2 separate regions of the Homo sapiens genome follow, and region 2 is linked to region 1. Evidence: promoter capture Hi-C in human tissues and cell types (Jung and others, 2019). All regions are on one chromosome and are shown on one strand. Each heading gives the region's core, a stretch centred on a gene start or on the middle of the fragment in contact. The rest is flanking DNA. Distances are from core to core; before and after follow the strand shown.

The links. The method cuts DNA at HindIII sites, captures the fragments that hold promoters and counts their contacts. A contact is called where the count stands out against the background at its distance.
Region 2: a contact is called between a fragment that was not itself captured here and the fragment with the promoter of BMP3 in region 1, in 2 of the 25 tissues and cell types used here (H1 embryonic stem cells and spleen).

Annotation. Positions count from the first base shown.
Region 1 is chr4:81,028,380-81,032,186 of GRCh38, reverse strand. BMP3 (bone morphogenetic protein 3) reads right to left here and starts at 1,479. Exons shown (of 3, transcript NM_001201.5): 1 at 587-1,479. The coding sequence starts at 902. The HindIII fragment of the contact is 7,363 bases long and covers 1-3,807 here.
Region 2 is chr4:80,490,622-80,494,476 of GRCh38, reverse strand. The region is part of intron 2 of CFAP299 (cilia and flagella associated protein 299); the gene reads right to left. LOC105377305 (a long non-coding RNA gene) reads left to right here and starts at 2,927. Exons shown (of 3, transcript XR_938931.3): 1 at 2,927-3,006; 2 at 3,462-3,519. The HindIII fragment of the contact is 7,546 bases long and covers 1-3,855 here.

The sequences.
Region 1 (3,807 bases), core at 230-2,729:
GGAACTATCAAGTAAAGTGTCAAATATAGTACAGTAACACAAAGGGCGCGAATTAGGAGCGGGTGCAATATCTGGAGAAGCGACTGGGGAAGGAGAAAAGGAGAGGGGAAGGCGTCTTATTCAAGTATGATTTCTCTCGGGTCCTGGCATTGGCATAAAATGGCATCTGCCTCTTAGTAAACATGGCTAAAGCCCAGTCCAAAGGAATTTCCGCTGGCCGATTTAGGAATCAACAGAATAAGGTACCCTAGAGGTGCTCCAGTCACTCAGGGCAGGAGGCCTCACAGGCATGGGGTGTCGCCCCTTCCCTTTTTCCACGAAGCTCCTCCAGCCTACCCCTCCACTGCTCCGCGCCTTCATTCTATTTCCCCCTCTCACTTTGGATTTGAAAACTGGGCTTACAGGAGATGCAGCTGGCGACACGCGGGGTGTGACTGGACGGAGGAATCCAGAGGGCAGCTGAGGAGGGCGGAGAAAGGTCCCTAGGCAGCGCCACCAAGCAAGGGGCAGACAAGGAAGCTGTGGGGGGTCCCGGGAGAAAGCTGGGGCGGGACCGCGGGAAGGGAGTCTCACCTCGCGCACTCACCTGCTGCTGCCGCCCGAAAGCTGCGAACCGTGTTGCCTTCGCGCAGGAGCCGAGGGCGCCAGGGCTGCGAGCCTCCCTCCAGGGAGCCCGGTGTCCGGGCCGCCTGGACCGTGCTGTACCTGTCATAGAGCCGCAGCATGTGTTCAGAGACCTTGTCTTGCGGCTGCAGCTCGGAGTCCGGGCCACCACCTGCCGTGCGGTCACCTGGCACAGCTTTGCGGAGCTCCGGGAAAGGTGGCTTCGGTCTCTCTCCCTGCGCCAGGCTCACGCAGAAGCAGCCCAGCCACAGAAAGAGCAGCCTGCTCGCCCCAGCCATGGCTAGGTACCCGCGCGGCGCGTCGGCTCCCGGCGTCGCTGCGGGACACTCCGAAGGCGCAAGGAGCCGGCGGCGGAGCCGAGGGTTGAACTCCAAACCAGCTGGGGCGAGGGCGCACGGAGCCCGGGACGCGGCCGGGTGCAGCGAGATAGCGGCCAGCCCCACTTGCTGCGCTGACCCAGCGCAGCCTGACAGGTGGGCTCTTCCCCAGCAGCTGCGCGGACCTCACCCGCGCAGGGCGCTGCGGGCGCCGTCTCCACTCCAACGCTGAGAAAGAGCTGTAGGTCGCGGCGTGTGTGGCCCGGGTGTTTTCAAGATCTGTCTGTACCTTCCCTCCTCGCTTTATTTTTGGGAACACCCGGCCAAACTGGCCGCGCGAGGGACTAGGACTAGCTCTGTTTTGGGCGCCAGGTCGGAGCCGGGGCTGTGCGCAGCGGTCCGGAGGGCGCTCGATTGCCTTTTCCAGGGATTGGAGCAGCTGCGGCGCGGCTGGTCCGAGTTTTTTAGTGTACGTGTGTGTGTGTGTGCGCGCGCGCGCGCGCGTGTGTGCGTGTGTGTGTGTGTATGAGAGAGAGAGACTTAGTTCTTTCGCTCTCTAGCTGATCTGTAGAGTCCTCAGCCAATCTCTCCCACTCCCTCGTCCTCGCCCTCTTAGCTTGCACCAGGCTGGGATAGAAGCAAGGGAGGGGGGGAGTAACCAGAGAACTGGCAGCGGGAGGGAGAGAAGAGGAAGTAGGGGTGGGGATGGCTGGGGAGAGGAAGGGAAAAGGAGATTCAGGACTAAAGAAATGGTAGGAGGGACGGTTTTTTTGTTTTGTTTTGTTTTGTTTTTGTTTGTTTTTTTTTTTAATTCTCCAAGAACAGTGGCTGTGTGGTGGCTAGCAAGAGGGCAGAGGAAAACAGAACTTCTTCCTGGCTTTTCGGTCTTATGATTCCAAACAAAGTCACAACGTGAACACCATTCTCGCTTACTTTCCCGAGCCTCTTCTGACGGACACTGCGGGCCCCTGCACCTGCAGCCCGTCATCATAGCTTCCTGTCTTTCTGAGAGCATACCCATCATAACGCCCCTCTCTCCCGCATCATCTTCTCTCGAGGTGAGAAATATGTGCGAGTCAATATCATGTTAAAAACAAATAAGAAAACAAGCAAACACACCACAACCCCACCTACAGCTTCCCCCAAAGGTTTCCTTCCTACAGGTCCCCAAAAGGTTTCCCAGCAGGATGGTGCAGTGGTGGCTAAAAACAAGGGTGTGTGGAAGATCCCGGAGTCCGGAACAGAATGTAAGAGTCGCTAGCTTTGTCTTCCTAATTCTCTCTTGTCATGGCTGTACAATGGAGATTAAACTATGAGCAGCCTGGCGCAGTGGCTCAGGCCTGTAATCCCAGCACTTTGGAAGGCCAAAGCGGGTGGATCACGAAGTCAGGAGTTCGAGACCAGCCTTGCCAACATGGTGAAACCTCATCTCTACTAAAAATACAAAAATTAGCTGGGCGTGGTGGTGCGCACATGTAATCCCAGCTACTGGGAAGGCTGCGGCAAGAGAATGGCTTGAATCCAGGAGATGGAGGTTGCAGTGAGCCGAGATTGTGCCACTGCACTCCAGACTGGGTGACAGAGCAAACTTTGTCTCAAAACAAAAAACAAACAAACAAACAAAAAACAACTGTGAGCTAACATTTTTCTCCACACTTATGCTCTAGACATGCCTTGTTATTTATATTTCAAGTATATTACCAAATAATTTTCACAGCAAAACCCATTTTACAGATGAGGAAACTGAGGCAAAAGGATACATAGTAAGTGACAGAACTGAGATCCAAATTCAGGGAGTCTGATTTCTGGCCTCAGGCCAGATAACCACACTATTAATAGTGAAATTAGCATTTAAACTGAAGTTTCAGTGTGCAATCCATGTAAATGTTTAGTGCAGTTCTTGACCATATGCAGTAAAATCTTCAGTCAATGTCTATTGCATTTATCCCTCTTCCCCTCTGTAGGGCAATGGAGTTGATCGAAAAGAAGATAGGCTCCTGGAGTCACACCATGTCTCCAGATCTGAGTTTCTTCTTTGATGGTGAATAACAACACATTCCTTTTAGAGTTTTGTTTGGATGACATTAGAAAGCAGTGCTAAAGTGACTGGCGCACTCACTAGCCTTTAATAGGGGCTCAATCCCTTTCTATCCTAAATTTATCCCAAATCCAGACTACATTCTCCCCACTCAGTCACTTCTTAACCCACTGCGGTTTGGATTTTGCCCTTAGCCACCCCGGGAACTGTTCTGCAGATAATAACACATATTTCAAGAGTAGTTGTGAGGATTAAATGAGATCATGTGTTTGATCTTTGCTTGGCATAAAGAACATAATAGCTTTTGTGATTAATAATGAAGATCTAATTGCAAAATTCAATAGGCCCTGGAAACTCTCTCTTTGATTTTTTCCCTGTGAACTATTGGTTGTTTTTCCATTCCTTTCTGCCCTTTCTCAGTTCTGTCAGCTGCCTCCTCTTTCTAGGCCTGCCTCAAGCGTTCCTGACATCTTTACTCTGCCCTTGGAAAATGCCAAATCCAGAAGAAAATTCTTTTTCAGTTCTTCTGCTTTGGTGGTCACCTCTGGCCTTTAAATATATAGTTCTGGGTCCCCCTCAGCTCCAGTCCTCCTTGCCAAAGAAGTTCATCCTCTTCCCCTTTGAAACCATCTTTGAGACTTCCCTCCCTTTAGCTACAGTGCATATTTCTGTCACAACATTTGCCACTCTGTACTCCACATGATTCTTCATTCATAGATACTGAAGACTGACAGCATGTCTACAATGGCTCCCTTCCCTTTGCTGCACCTCCAATCTGTTATTTAAGCCATAAGCATAAAATAAGAGTGCCATCTCACAGGGTTGTAG
Region 2 (3,855 bases), core at 841-3,340, 540 kb after region 1:
AGATATTTACATATAACAGGAAGCCAAGAAAAGGTTTTAAGCAAGGAAGTTAACTTGTCAGATATATGTTGTTTAAAGAAATGTATACTGCCTATTATGTGAAATAATCTAGGAGAGCTAAAAATGGGAATAGTTAACATACTTTGACAGTGAGTTGGTCTAGGATAGTGCGAAGAGCTGGTGGGAAGATAGTGAGGATAATGGGAAGAGCTTGAGATACATTTTGAAGGTAGAACCAATAGGACTTGCTGATATGTTAAATGTGAGATATGTGACAAAGAAAGGAATCTAGGGTCTCTTTTGGACAGGAACCAGCTGATTCAGAAATGCTGAGATGGGAAGAACAGGAAGAAGAGCATGGAGGTGGGATTCACTCTGCTAACTTCAAGAATATGAGATAGAGGCCAGGCGCGGTGGCTCACGCCTGTAATCCCAGCACTTTGGGAGGCCGAGGCGGGTGGATCATGAGGTCAGGAGATCGAGACCATCCTGGCTAACAAGGTGAAACCCCGTCTCTACTAAAAATACAAAAAATTAGCCGGGCGTGGTGGCGGGCGCCTGTAGTCCCAGCTACTCGGGAGGCTGAGGCAGGAGAATGGCGTGAACCCGGGAAGCGGAGCTTGTAGTGAGCCGAGATTGCGCCACTGCAGTCCGCAGTCTGGCCTGGGCGACAGAGCGAGACTCCGTCTCAAAAAAAAAAAAAAAAAAAAAAAAAAAGAATATGAGATAGAAAAGAGACAGATATCCCAGAAGAGCTAGATATAAATTTAAGTCACTAGCGTTTGAGTAGTCTGTAGCTATGGTATTGAATATGAATTCTAAATGCTCTTCAAAGAATTAATATGTCAGTATGATCAATTCTTTGCCTTCTACTTTTAAACTTAACTTCCTCATAAAGCAACCTTTTTCGATTACCTACTCCACCCTGACTCTTTCCTATCACCTGCTCTACTCTAACTCATTCTGATCACCTGCTCCACCCTAACTCATTCCAATTACCTGCTATCTGCTCTGCCCTGACTCCGCCAAAGCACTCATCCCATCATCTTTAAATTAGCCAATTGGAATTTGTTTAGCCTGTGAGATCTAACCCTAGCCAATAGGGGAATGACACAGTAGCAGGGGCCACGTGCATCAGGGATAAGAATCCCTTCCTCTCCCTTGTCCAAATGTGCACCCACCATCGGTGAGTGTGCACCCTTCTACAGAAGTACCTTGCCTTGCTGATAATTAAAAGAAAGTTTTATATTCAAGTGCTATTTCTTTTGTGGCACTGAAACTTTATTTATAACAATGGGAATGCATAATATGTGCAGTTAAAGAGGATAACTATAACTATTATATACACCTTATACACCTTAATGATTGGCAAAAGACTGTGTCAAGCATGTCTTTTTGTTCTGATGCTTCAGTGTCTGGAGTCTTGTTGACTCTACAGAGGCTGCCCCTCCTAGGGCTAACCACTTCCTGGAGATAGGAGATAACTCACCTGACTGTGTACTTTGTATATGCAAACCAAGCCACTAAAAGGCCACAACCCTCCTAACAGCCTCCTTTATCGGGCTCTCACTGAGCTCTCACACTCCAGGCCACCATCCCACAGTCTCCATCACCCCAGGGCCTGCTGAAATTATTCAAACTAGCCAATCCTAAGCCTGCTTACTCAGTCTTGCTTTGCCTTTCCTGTAGAAACCATGATAAAGGCCTTTGCCCAGGAGAAAACCCTTCCTCCTAGGAACTGTAAGCAACAAGTCATCTTTTCAATGGTGAATGTCTCATGATCTGTTGGCCTCACCATACCTTAATAATAATAAAACCTGTATTTTAAACAGACATTTTAGATGCATGAAAATGTGTCTTGAAAATTCTAGTGTTATTAAATAATTATGTATCATACTATACCAAGTTGCATTTCTCTGACTCCATACACTTCCCAAGTCCCTATATTTTCTCTTACATAAAAACTCTGCTTTTAAACTCCTGTTAGTCCCATCTATTTTACCTGGATCCTCAAAACTGCTAGCTTATCATGATGAGCCATCATATGTTTATTTACTCTCACAAACATTCCTATCATTAATTCTGACAGTGCATTGACAAAGACATTGTTGATGAAAAGAGTCGAAATCTGTAAAATATCTGAAGAGATTTATTCTGAGCCAAATATAAGTGACCATGGCCCATGACATAGCCCTCAGGAAGTCCGTCCTGAGAACACGTGCCCAAGGTGGTCGGGGCACAGCTTGGTTTTATAGACGTTAGAGAGGCATGAGACATCACTCAAATACATTTAAGAAATGCATTGGTTTGGCCCAGAAAGGTGGAACAACTCAAAGTCGGGAGGCTTCCAGGCTATAGGTGAATTTAAATATTTTCTGGTTGACAATTGGTTGAGTTTGTCTAAAGATCTGGATAGACAAAAACGGTTAAGATAAAGATTAAGGTAAAATAAGATACAGATTGTGGAGACCAAAGTTCTTTTGAAGTCTTATAGTGGCTGCCCTTAGAGACAATAGGTGACAAAAGTTTCCTATTCAGATCTTAGTTAATCTCTTTAGGATTGGAAGGGTCTGGAAGAAGAAGATTTAGCTATGTTAATAGAGATTCTTTACAGAAGCAGATTTTCTCTCAGAAAGAACAGCTTTGCAGGGCCATTTCAAAATATGGCAAAGAAACATGTTTTGGGGTAAAATATTTTGATTTTCCTTTTTGTCTCATAATGTTATGGCCAGAGTCAGTCTGGAAAGTAAATCATGATATATATGGTTAAATAAAACCCATCTGATGAGAATTTCTGATTTATAGGGCATGACTCCCCAGACCCCTTAGATAGGAATTTGGGCAAGAAAAAAAAAATCAGAGTTTAGTCCTCAACATTAACCTAAACCATTTGGTGAGAACAGAAAGTGAAAGTTTCCCAAAGTTACCAGAGCTGGGTAATATTGTGTTTATCTGAATACAACAAAAAATTCCTTTAAATAGAGAAAGAAATCGGCTATATTATCTGTAAGTCCTATTTATGAATGTGGACAATTGTATTTGGATATATATGTATATACGTTGCTCTTACATATTTTCCAGAAAATAATTTTTTTAAAAGCCTGAAAAAAACACTATTGCTGAAATGTTTTTATCAACTGGCATTCAGAATTCTAAGTTTAATTTACTACCTTTATTTTATGAACATTTAAAACTTATAGAAAATCTGGTGTTTAATCTATATTAATTCTATTTTTAAACGATAAAACTATCCTTATAATGTTTTAAAAGTCTTGCTTAGTAAAATAATCATTACATAAAATGTGGGTCTTTTCTGAAAAGCATATTACAGTTATTTTTATTACAGTTTAATAATTTTGATTCAAGCTGAATGATATCTATATTTTAAACATATTAAAGCATTTTGTGTTAGAATATTTTTACTTTTGGCAAATGTAAAATGTTCATTTTTTTTCAAGCAGAATGACAAACTACTTGAGCACTGTTGAAACTAATTTTTGTCTTTCCTAAAATGGAGAGGTAAGTAAGATGGATTAATCACACACACACATAATCCTGTTCCAAGAAATACTGTAGAAATCAAAATTTATACAATAAAAAGTAATAGGTGAATTATGTCTTTGAAAAGACAGTAATCCCTTCTGCAGAAAAATTTTACTGAGTTATTGAATTGTTATAATAGCTTAAGTCTCATACTTATTCACTACTTAATGCATTGAATTTCAAACTGTGGGATTTTTAAAAAGCCAAATATATGTGTTTTGTAAAGTGATTTAAACTTTAAGTGAAAAAAATTATATCCATGAAAGCTTGTTAAATGTTAAGAATGTAAGTTATACTATTTCTGTAAGAATA